Linked DNA regions of Homo sapiens: region 1 is linked to region 2. Evidence: promoter capture Hi-C in 16 types of primary human blood cells and fetal thymus (Javierre and others, 2016). All regions are on one chromosome and are shown on one strand. The core of a region is centred on a gene start or on the middle of the fragment in contact, and the rest is flanking DNA. Distances in the headings are between cores, read along the strand shown. Region 1 has its middle 13 kb from the start of HNF1A-AS1. Region 2 holds the start of MLEC (malectin).

Region 1 (5,744 bases), core at 2,185-4,684, 270 kb before region 2:
TACCTACTACAGTCCATGGAACATAGTGTAGTCACGGGGCCACACCAAAATGCAAGAGAGACTGGGAAATGTCTTCATTCCAGGCAGCACGATCTGAATCTGTTATTAAGGAAAAAAATAGGAAGAATGGATATTGGGTATGTAACTAGCTACAAATGATCATGGCATCTCCGTTTATTGAGCACTTATTATGTGCTAGACACAGTCCTAAGTACTTAATAAATGTGGCCCGGTCAAACAAGATTGCCCTCTGCCCCCAAGATTGCCCTCTGCCCCTTCTGTAGCCAGGGACACACACACACACGCACGCACGCATGTACAGGAGCCAGTTGGGCCTGGCCCCCTTCACTGCGGGTACTGACATGCGAAGTCTTTGTCATATGACTCTGAGCAGGGAGGGAGCAGTGTCCTCTTAGCATAATAAGATCAGGATTCATAACATTAAATCAAAGTGCTGTAACTCACAGGAATATCAGTTTCCTATTCAGAAGATAGAGGAGAATGTTTTCAGAAGGAAATTGAACTTTATGGTTTGAAACACGTTTAATTTTAAATATGTTGAGAGAAAACCAGCTACAGCCTGGCATGGAAACTCCTGTTGTTCCAGCCAATGCCTTGGAGAACCAGAGACCACGCCCCCTTCCTCCCTGCTGAGGAGTCAACGAACGAGACCAAAGTCCCCTGTTCTTCTCTGCAGTCAGCAGAAATCAGAGAAGAACATCTTTAGACAGTCAGCAGACTCAGGAACTGTGTACTCTAGGACTTTTTAAAAATTTTTTTACTTTTATTTTTTTGAGACGGAGTCTCGCTCTGTCGCCCTGGCTGGAGTGCAGTGGCGTGATCTCAGCTCACTGCAACGTCCACCTCCCAGGTTCAAGCTATTCTCCTGCCTCAGCCTCCCGAGTAGTTAGGATTACAGGCGCCTGCCACCACACCCGGCTAATTTTTGTATTTTTAATAAAGACAAGGTTTTGCCATGTTGGCTAAGCTGTTCTCCAACTCCTGACCTCAGGTGATCCACCTGTCCCAGCCTCCCAAAGTGCTGGGATTACAGGCATGAGCCACCGCACCCAGCCTGGGACTTTTTTATTTTTACAGAGATGGGTGATGATTCATGGGACGTTGGAGATGCCCCAAGACTGGAGATATGATTTGGGGGATCCTGAGGATTGGTGACCTAGGCAAAACTTGGGGAGGCTGGATCCTGGGTATGGAGTAGCCAATCTGAATAAAGACCCCTGCGCCAAAGGTTGGCACAGAAATAGTGGTCTTGCCAGCCTTCAGGGGAGGCCCACACCAGTCCTAGACTGCCTGCTTCTGGAAGGAATCAACTCTTACATGTTTATGCCATTTCACTTTGGGTTTTCTGTTCTATACAGCTAAACCTAATACTGGACTGATACATTATTATTATTTTCAGAACCAACCAAAGCTGGAATAACACTCTTGATAATGCCAGTTTCCTGGTCCTAGAAGTGAGCTAACAGGCTTTTCAGAGATGACGAGATGTGAAATCCCTCACTGATTCATGCTTCATGTGTTTAATGAGCACCCACTAGGTGCTAAGCCTTGTTCTAGTCAGGAATAAAACCGATACTTCACGAGGTTTACAGCCTGGTGGAGGAGACGTGTATCAGGCTAGTGCGTGTAGACCAAAGGCCAGAGGCGCCCACTCAAGCATTTCCACCTACATGAGAATCCCATAGTCTTTTTAGAAGAATAGAAATAGTAAGCCCTGAGTCACGACTGCATTTGAATGCCACCTTACCTGAAGTCTGAATCAGGGATAATTTGATTTCAGAAGAATAAAATGAGGCTCCTAACACCTGTCCCAAATTGCAAGGAAATGAGGGTATTCTCTTTTTTTTTTTTTTTTCTGAGATGGAGTCTCGCTCTATCGCCCAGGCTGGAGTGCAGTGGCGCGATCTCGGCTCACTGCAAGCTCCACCTCCCGGGTTCACGCCATTCTCCTGCCTCAGCCTCCTGAGTAGCTGGGACTACAGGCGCCCGCCACCACGCCCAGCTAATTTTTTGCATTTTTAGTAGAGACGGGGTTTCACCGTGTTAGCCAGGATGGTCTCGATCTCCTGACCTCGTGATCCGCCCGCCTCGGCCTCCCAAAGTGCTGGGATTACAGGCGTGAGCCACCGCGCCCAGTTGAAATGAGGGTATTCTCTAAGAGGCAGATGACAGAACCTACTGCAATGAATTTGTCAAGCTCAAGGCTAAGGACACAGTCCCTCCACAAGGCAGCCTTCACTTCAAATGCCAGGTGCAACTGGGGATTCCTGGGCCACCCTCACTTCTGACCGCTTGGCTGCATTGAGGGTTCCCACTACCCCCTGTGGTTCAATAATTCACTAGAATGACTCATGGAACTCAGGAAAGTGCCCCGCCTCATAACGACAGTTTTTATGATAGCAAACAGACACAGATCAGAACCAGCCACAAGAAAGGACATAGAGGGTGAGGTGCGGAAGGGGTTCAAGTGCAAAGCTCCTAGTTACCTTCTCTCCAGACAGTCACCTCCCCCCAGCTATGATGCGTGATGACACTCAGAGAATACTGCTAACCAGAGAAGCTCCTGAGGCTTTGGTGTCCAGCGTTTTTGGGGGTTTTGTTTTTGTTGTTGTTGTTTCTGAGATGGAGTCTCGCTCTCGTCGCCCAGGCTGGAGTGCTGTTGCGTGATCTCAGTTCACTGCAACCTCCACCTCCTGGGTTCAAGCGATTCTCCCGCCTCAGCCTCCAGAGTACGAGTAGCTGGGATTACAGGCATGCACCATGCCCAGCTGATTTTGTATTTTTAGTAGAGACAGGGTTTCACCATGTTGGCCAGGCTGATCTCAAACTCCTGACATCTGGTGACCCGCCCCCCTCAGCCTCCTGAAGTGCTGGGATTACAGGCATGAGCCACTGCCAGCCAGTGTCCAGCGTTTTTTAGTGGGGCTTGATCCCTTACTGCCAGTGTGGCTGACCTTTCATCTCCAGTCTCTCCTGAGCTAACTCTTGTGTATCCAGCTCATCTGGAGGTTGGAACTGATACAGGATGTTCCAAAGCCTTCATTACAGATCACATTGTTAGACTATCTGGTGGCCAAAGGCCCCAGGCAAACACAGACACTTCCATCAGACAGGACGTTAAGGGGCCTAGAGATCACCTCCCAGCAACTGAAGGCAAAGATAATCCTCCTACTGTACATCCTTTTTTTTTCTTTTTTTTTTTTTAAGAGACAGGGTTTCATTCTGTCGCCCAGGCTGGAGTACAGTGACACACTCATGGCTTGCTGCAGCCTCGACCTCCTGGGCTCAAGCAATCCTCCTGTAGCTGGGACTACAGGTGTGCACCACCACACCCCGCCAACTATACATCCACCACCACCCTGTCCTCTCAGCCCCCAAAGTCATGAGGCTTTGACTAGGTATCAGGATGTCTTCAAATGAAAATTAATGAAAACAGCGGGCCCGGTGGCTCACACCTGTAAGCCCAGCACTTTGGGAGGCCGAGACAGGTGGATCACCTGAGATCGGGAGTTCAAGAACAGCCTGATCAACATGGAGAAACCCTGTCTCTGCTAAAAATACAAAAAAAGTAGCTGGGCATGATGGCACATGCCTGTAATCCCAGCTACTTGGGAGGCTGAGGCAGGAGAATTGCTTGAACCCGGGAGGTGGAGGTTGTGGTGAGCCGAGATCATGCCATTGTACTCCAGCCTGGGCAACAAGAGTGAAACTTCGTCAAAAAAAAAAAAAAGAAAAAAAGAAAAGAAAATTAATAAAAACAAAAATCCAAAGTTGGACACACACACAGAGAACACCTTAGGACAATAGAGGTACACCGTGGAGTGCTGCAGCAGCAAGCCAAAGATTGCCAAGGATTACCAGAGACGTGAGACGTTGGAAAGGGCAAGAGTGGAATCTCCCCTCTCCCCCAAGTTTGAGAGGGGGCCAAGCCTTACCGACACCTTAATTTGAGGCCTCTAGTCTCTAGAAATGCAATGTGCAAGGCGGGGCGCGGTGGCTCACGCCTGTAATCCCAGCACTTTGGGAGGCTGAGGCGGGCCTTAAGGTCAGGAGTTCAAGACCAGCCTGGCCAACATGGTGAAACCCTGCCTCAAAATGCAAAAAGTAGCCAGGCGTGGTGGCATGTGCCTGTAATCCTAGCTACTCAGGAGGCTGAGGCAGGAGAATCACTTGAACCCAGGAGGCAGAGGTTGCAGTGAGCCGAGATCACACCAGTGCACTCCAGCCTGGGCAACAGCGTGAGACTCCATCTCAAAAAAAAAAAAAAGGGCCGGGTGCAGTGCTCACGCCTGTAATCCCAGCACGTTGGGAGGCTGAGGTGGGAGGATCACCTGAGGCCAGGAGTTCAAGACCAGCCTGGCCAATATGGTGAAACTCTGTCTCTACTAAAAATTCCAAAAAAATTTAGCAGGGTGTGGTGGCGCATGCCTGTAATCCCAGCTACTCGGGAGACTGAGACAGGAGAATTGCTTGAACCCGGGAGGTGGAGGTTGCAATGAGCTGAGATGGCGCCACTGCACTCCAGCCTGGGAGACAGAGTGAGACTCCGTCTCAAAACAAAACAAAACAAAAATGCGACGTGCAGTGATGTGCTCCAGCTGGTGTGATCCCCTTGGGGATGTGGCAATGGATGGGCATCCCCAGACTTGATGATCATCCCTTTGTCTCTTACCAGCAATCCCCAAACCAATTCACAAGTTCTGTTTTGTTTTGGTTTGGTTTTTTGTTTGTTTTTTGAGACAGAGTCTCACTCTGTCGCCCGGGCAGGAGTGCAGTGACATGATCATATCTCACTGCAGCCTCAAACTCCCAGGCTCAAGTGATCCTCCCACCTCAGCCTCCCTAGTAGCTGGGACTACAGGTGTGCACCACCATGCCTGGCTAACTTTTTTCATTTTTTGTAGAGATGGGGGTCTCCCTATGTTGCCCAGGCTGGTTTCGAACTCCTGGGCTCAAGTGATCCTCCCATCTCAGCCTCCCAAAGTGCTGGCATTACAGGCGTGAGCCACCGTGCCCGGCCACAAGATATTTTTTAAGCATGGAGGTTTCTGTGCATTGGATTCCCCTCTTTGAGCTTCACCATATATATTTGTCCAAGGGCAGGGAGATCCGGTGTAATCTGCTTACACAATATTCCTGGAGAAGTTCTTCTTTCAGTAAATACTTGTACATCTCTGCAGAGTGACAGCAGGTTCTCCAGCAAACACCTTGGGGAGCCCAACCCTTTCCTGGGAATGCCCCTGTGTTAATGGGAATCAAAGCTGAGAGCAGGTGGGGAGAGTACATTCTTGGCTTATCAGCTTCCAACAGAAAGGGGAAATAAAAACAGATGCAATCTTTTATTGCAAAGGGATGGGTGCCTCTAAGATCAGATAAAGCCCATATAGGATTATGCAGAAACTGGTGTAAATTTGCAGGTCATCAAGACTCAATGTCCCCTCCCTCCCCACACTGTCCACCTCTGGACCATTTTGCACTTTATATTTTCTGAGAAAGGAGGCAGAGGGGAAGAAGGGGTTCAAAGGTGTCAGCCTGGCTCCTGGTGACCAGCTCTGTTTAGCAGGAAGTTAGCTGGAACAACTGATTGAGCCCTGGGATAATCTATGCTGTCACTGTGGACACAGCGGAGCAGAGGGCACACACAGTGGAGGGCACACACAGCGGAGGACAGACACAGTGGAGGGCACACACAGTGGAGGGCACACACAGCGGAGGGCACACAC
Region 2 (5,737 bases), core at 2,594-5,093:
AGTGAGGCCAGTACCTAAAGAATTGTTCTGAATGGGCTGAGACAGCGAACCCACGGATTCAGGGACCTAAATTTTCTACCTGTGAACTTCCACTATTTGGAAGGCCTGCAGATGAAGCCTGCCTGTTAGGTGACAGTAGAGGTAGAGAATTCTAAACAACTGCCATGGCTTTGAGCAAATCAGAGGTAGCAGTGACTCCTCTCTCATCCCATGTTTCAAGCTCTTACCTCCCCAAAGCCAAATCCTTCCCCAGGTGAAAGGAAGGCAGCCCAGGAAAGGGTATTCCTTAAGGTTACAGCATTAGCAACCTGATAGGCTCTGGTCCCCAACCAACTTTTTTCCCCTCTGGAGCTATGTTCTGCCCTATTTTTAATTCCATGTAAAAGGTCATCAAGGAAAAAAAAAGTGACAGAGACACTTCAAGCTACTCTGGACAGGAGAGTTTACAGTCTTATCAGAAATTTCTAAAGCATGAGAGATTTTTTGAAAAGGAAAACAAGGCTCAGAGACGTAAAGCAAGTTTCTCGAGGACCTGCGACTTTAGCAGGTATCTTTCTCTGAAGAGGAAATAGCCTTCCCTAAACTCAAGCAAAATTCTGTGCCCTCAGGTCAAATAACCAGGTCTTTTCCTAGTCAGAGTGAAGAGGAACTCAAAATGACCAAGTTACAAATCTGGAACATGGTCAGGCGTGATGGTTCATGCCTGTAATCCCAGCAGTTTGGGAGGCCAAGGTGGGAAGATCACTTGAGGACAGAAGTTCAAGACCAGCCTGGGCAACATAGTGAGACCCCTGTGTCTACAATAAAAAAAAAATTAAAAATTTTCAATAAATAAATAAAAACCCTGGAATGTGCCTCATACCAAAACCCCAAGGTGAACGCTTCTAAACCACTTTCTGTAGTGGTGCTCCCATCTGTGGAAGCACACAGGCTGAAAAAGCCTTTCCCAGGCTGTAAGCACTAGCTATCCTCAAGGCAGAAATGAAATTCAATAAATATTCTGAACTGCTTTTGAAAGCATAAACCACTAGGTGCCCTGGGCCACTCACAATTACAAGAATGTTGAACTACAAAGAAACTACACAGAAACAGCAAGTTCAAAAGAAGGCCAAACCCTTATCTGGACTAACTTGGTAACAAATACCTGAATTCATTCAACATAAAATCAACTTTTCTCAGCATGCTGGAAACAATATCACAGGCAGGCGGGAAAAGAAATAAGGCATACAGTTCCTACTGCAATCAGTGTAAATAGCTGCACGAGGCAAGGGTCTTCAAATACCTGGCACACCCTTATCCAAACAGGCCCAGAAGAAAGGCAGTGTGAACAGCTGGACTTCCCTTGGTAGGACTGACTCCTTAGTAGAGAGCTGCCTCCTGAGAGTGCAAGCTTATGCGCATCTCAGCCCGACCTAAAGCCAGCAAAATGCCTTTCTCAGGAACCTGGTAAGCGCAATGTTGCAACAAGCTGGTCCAAACTGCAGCTGACAAGCGCCACCTCCCACTCCCCATCCATGCCTTAATACTGCTCCAATTCTTACCCAGATTGGTAGAATGGAGAGGGGAACCTTAGCAGGGAACCTTCATTTATACAATGCCCCAAGGGCCAGTGTCCGAAATAGGACTCCAGTACACACAAGCTTTGGTAGGTCTCATGTAATTTTACCTGCTACAATAAACTCCTTCCAAGGAACTGCAACCATGAGCCAATAACCCAAGGACACAGATCTTGGCTGACTGCTGACCAAGCCAAAGAAACACACACACACACACACACACACACACACCACCTGCATCAGCAAATTAAAACCAGAATTTCTGAATAAGGGCAGTATCTGGGAACTAAACCTGTGTGGTCTTACTCGGCTTTATTCTCTGCACAACAGACTGAATAGGACGATGTAACCAATGTAAGGCCTGGTATCTGCTAAGTGAAAGAAACCATCCGCTCAGCACCCTCACCACCGCTATCTCAAGAGGCAAAGTCCACAAACTGTCTAGTTTCCTCAAGGGCTCTTTCCTCCCTGCCCACACTCGTGAAGAAAGAGGAAGGGTCCAGGATAGAGATAGTAATGACCTCCTGCTATAAAGTCTGGCTTTGGCTGCTGTTACCGCTGCTAAAGACTGGAGCCCTGAGTCAGCTGAACCCAGGCTACTGTGATCTACATGCCAGGGCTCAACAAACTCCAAGACAAACATAGAACTTCACAAAACAGCCCTGTGTCCCAAGACCCTCACATGTGTGAAAGGCAATAAACTCCTTAATATAACAAACTCCAGGACACTGCAATCGACTTGGGAAGAACTAACTATTTTAGTAAAAGCAAGAGCCAAATCTGGGCATCGCAGAAAAAGAATGAGAGAAAGTGAAGAGTGAGTCTGTCTCCTGGTTGTCTGGAGGTGGCATACTGCCAATTTGGTAGCCTCTGAACCCAGCATACAGTATCAATCTCCTAGCAAAGAACTTCCTTCTGAAACCTGTTTTCCAATCCCTCCAACAGAAGAAACAAAGATTATAAAGCTGATCTTCCAAAACGGTGGTCTCGGGGCAACCTACATCACAAGCCCCTGGTGCAGAAACCTGGATCCCAGCAAAAAAGCTCAATCTACTATAATCAATTTCGAGTGGGGACTAGGAATCTGCATTTTTAACCAGCTGCCCTGGCAATTCTGACACACACTAACTTTGGGAAGGGAGCAGCTCCGTTAAAAACCACTGTTGCCCAGCAAGTTAAGTCACAATCATTTTCCCCCTAAGCTGGAATTAGAACTCTCAGGATCACCTAGGGGAGGTTGTAAGCATTCTCTGATAGACCATTCGGATTCTTACACTGGTTGACCCAGTTCACACACAGCCACCAGCCTCACGTGCAGGATGGCTTCGATAGAACCACCCTCTGGGGGCGGCCTGCCGATTCTACTTTTAAGCACACATATTCTTCGCTCGAAAAGAGGGCGGGGGAGGAGGCTACAATCAAACTTTCCTGGCCCATTCTCTTCGAAGATTCCTTCCTATTCTGGCTAAGAATCAAGCCCCGCTCCTGCAGAAGGGGCAAGGAAAGCGGCCGATTCCTGGGTCGACGAGAATCTCCCAAGAACTGTCTCGACAGGAGAAGCAGGGGCACCCATGACCTACAACCCGCGAGGCCTGGAGGTAGCAAAAGGCCGCCTTCGTCATTTCTCTCCCAGCTTGGATGGGAGTGAGGGGTTGAGAAAATGCAGGATGAGAAATCCAAATATAACTAACTTCTGGCCAACTCTCTGCCTGTATGACTCTAGGTACCTTGGAGCCAGTGCCAGGCCCTGAGCTCAGAGCGGGCCCCCGAAGAAGCTGCAGAGAGAAACTTCGCTCCAGAGACGCGGCCCCAGGGTCGAAAGGGGCTCGGGGCCCGCAGCCCCCGGCCGGCTGCGCCCAGCACAGCAGGCCCTGGATCCCGCGGCTCGGCAGGGGGACTCTCACCTCGGCCCACCCGGCCTTCCAAAGGGTCCTTGCGGAAGTGGATCCCGTGCACGTCCACATGCGCCTCTCCACCCGCGTTGACCGCCCAAATGACGCTCTCGGGCAGCCCGGCCCCCGCCGCGCCGGCCACGCCGGCCACGCCGAGCCCGGGTCCCCGGATCGCCGGCGGCAGCAGCAGCAGCAGCAGTCGCAGGAGCGCCACAGCGGTTCCCTCAACCGCCCAGGCTCCCAGCATGGCGGCCACCACCACGGGGGCAGCCCCCGCCGACCCTCGTCCTCGGCCGGCTGCCAGGCCACCCCGGACTCAGAAAAACAGCGCCACGGGCCGCTCCGCCTGAGCCGCCGGGGACATGTCGCTCTCAGGCCTCCTTCTTCTCAGCCACGGGTACCGCCTCCCACCTCAGGAACAACCTACCCCGCCGCCCTGCCCCCGGCCACGACGCTGCAGCCAATCAGCGCCCGGCCCTCATTAATTACCCACCACCCCGCCGGGAGGCGCCCGCTCATTGGCTGTCAGGCGCGGGAAAGGGCGTGGCTTCTCCCAGGCGCCGGCCCAGCAGTCGGGCACCAGATGGAGCGCGCGCAGAGGGAGTGAGTTCGGTTGAAGCGGCGGTTCGATGCGGAAGTGGCGGGTGCAGCGCCCAGGCGGCCCCGGAATCCCACAGCTGAATGGGAAAGGTGGCCTGGGGGGGGAAGGTTTAGGGTAGGGCGCACTGACATGTCGCCAGCACTTCCGGTGCTCTAGCTCCTGAGACCAAATAGGCTCTGGAGGGGGCGTGGCCGACTTTCCCGCCCCCTCTTCTTTTCTCAGGGAGCAGCATGAGCATAAATTCTAGTAGGAGAAGCAATGGACACTCTCCAGACCTAAGAGACGCAGTCCTTTTCCCCGCGTGAGGGAGAGGACCCATGCTTTCCCAGAGAGGCCGCGGACACAGGTCTCCAGGGAACGAATCCCATGAGAATAAGGCCCCGCCCCCTCCCCTTAGCGGGCTCGGGGCGGGTGGTAGCGTCCAGACGGCCGTCCAATGAGAAGGCTCCAACGCAGCGGAAACGCGTGGCTTTGAGAGCGAGTGGGTGCCAGGCTGCTCGCGTCTCCATGGCGACGGCCTCTGGCCGGCCTCCGCTGCGTAGGGGCGGGACCGAGGCACCCTAGGCGCTGGCGGGAGTCGCCGCCGGCGGTGCCCAGAGTGGATACCGGGGTTGTCCCGCACGGGCACGGCCCGAACTCCCTCCCTGCTCCTTCACAGTTCACCTGGCGCTCTCCCACACTGGCGATCCCTGCGCTTCGGTCGCTGTTCAAACTCCCATTTTTCCGATGGGGAAACTGAGGCATAGAAAGGGACTGAATTTTGCCAAAGGGTCGCACCGCAAGTGTAGGGCAGAGTCAAGGCAAAAACAAAAAAAACAAAAAAACGCTTATGCATTTTCCATAAATACTGGTCGATTTAGAAATTCTCCCTAAAAGGAAAAAAATGTATCAAGTCCCTGCTACCAGGGTTGTCAGATTTGGCAGATAAAATAGGAGAAGCCCAGTTATATTTGAATTTCAGATAAGCAAATGGGACCCACTTATACTAAAAAAAAAAATGCATTGTTTATTAAAATTTAAACAACTGGACTTCTTGTATTTTATCTACCAATCCTACCTACTACTTAGGCAATGAGCTTTGTGCTACATGAACAAAAAACACACCTGGGGTCCCGCATGAGAATCATAGACTTTGCACAACCCATAATGAAATTAATTGTTTAGTTAGAACAGTGGTAAGTGCTATACGGGAACAAAACAGGGTGCCAAAATAGAGACTATCAGTGGTGGATCTAAATGCACCCAAATTCCTTCCCAGGCCCCAAATTCAGACCCCATGGGGGTAACTTTTGGAAGTGTTCCCTCCCGGTCTCACTTTCCCCCCTATTTTGCAAGCATCTGGCCTTACTTCCTCCCATAGACATGTTTCCTGTCCAAGGTGTTTCTTTTTTTTTTTTTTTCTGTCTTTTTTGGAGACAGAGTCTTGCTCTGTCGCCAGGCTGGAGTGCAGTGGTGCAATCTCGGCTCATGGCAACCTCCACCTCCCGGGTTTAGGCGATTCTGCTGCCTCAGCCTCCTGAGTAGCTGGGACTACAGGCGCGCGCCACCACACCCAACTAGTTTTTTTTATTTTTATTAGAGACCGAGTTTCACCATGTTGGCCAGGATGATCTCGATCTCCTGACCTCGGGGTCCGCGGCCTCCCAAAGTGCTGGGATTACAGGTGTGAGCCACCACACCTGGCCTCT

Evidence for each region. The method cuts DNA at HindIII sites, captures the fragments that hold promoters and counts their contacts. A CHiCAGO score of 5 or more calls a contact.
Region 1: a fragment that was not itself captured here is called in contact with the fragment with the promoter of MLEC in region 2 in 2 of 17 cell types (M2 macrophages and naive B cells); the score reaches 9.0 in M2 macrophages.

What each region holds. Positions count from the first base shown.
Region 1 is chr12:120,956,702-120,962,445 of GRCh38, reverse strand. No RefSeq gene overlaps it. Among named protein-coding and RNA genes, the nearest start is that of HNF1A-AS1, 13 kb to the left of the region's middle. The HindIII fragment of the contact is 7,737 bases long and covers 1-5,744 here.
Region 2 is chr12:120,685,255-120,690,991 of GRCh38, reverse strand. MLEC (malectin) reads right to left here and starts at 3,843. Exons shown (of 5, transcript NM_014730.4): 1 at 3,461-3,843. The coding sequence starts at 3,695. It overlaps LOC105370029 (a long non-coding RNA gene), which reads left to right and starts at 3,843. Exons shown (of 3, transcript XR_945449.3): 1 at 3,843-4,138. RefSeq lists silencers at 3,485-3,784, 4,625-4,724 and enhancers at 3,539-4,040, 4,135-4,264, 4,355-4,464. The HindIII fragment of the contact is 12,504 bases long and covers 1,643-5,737 here.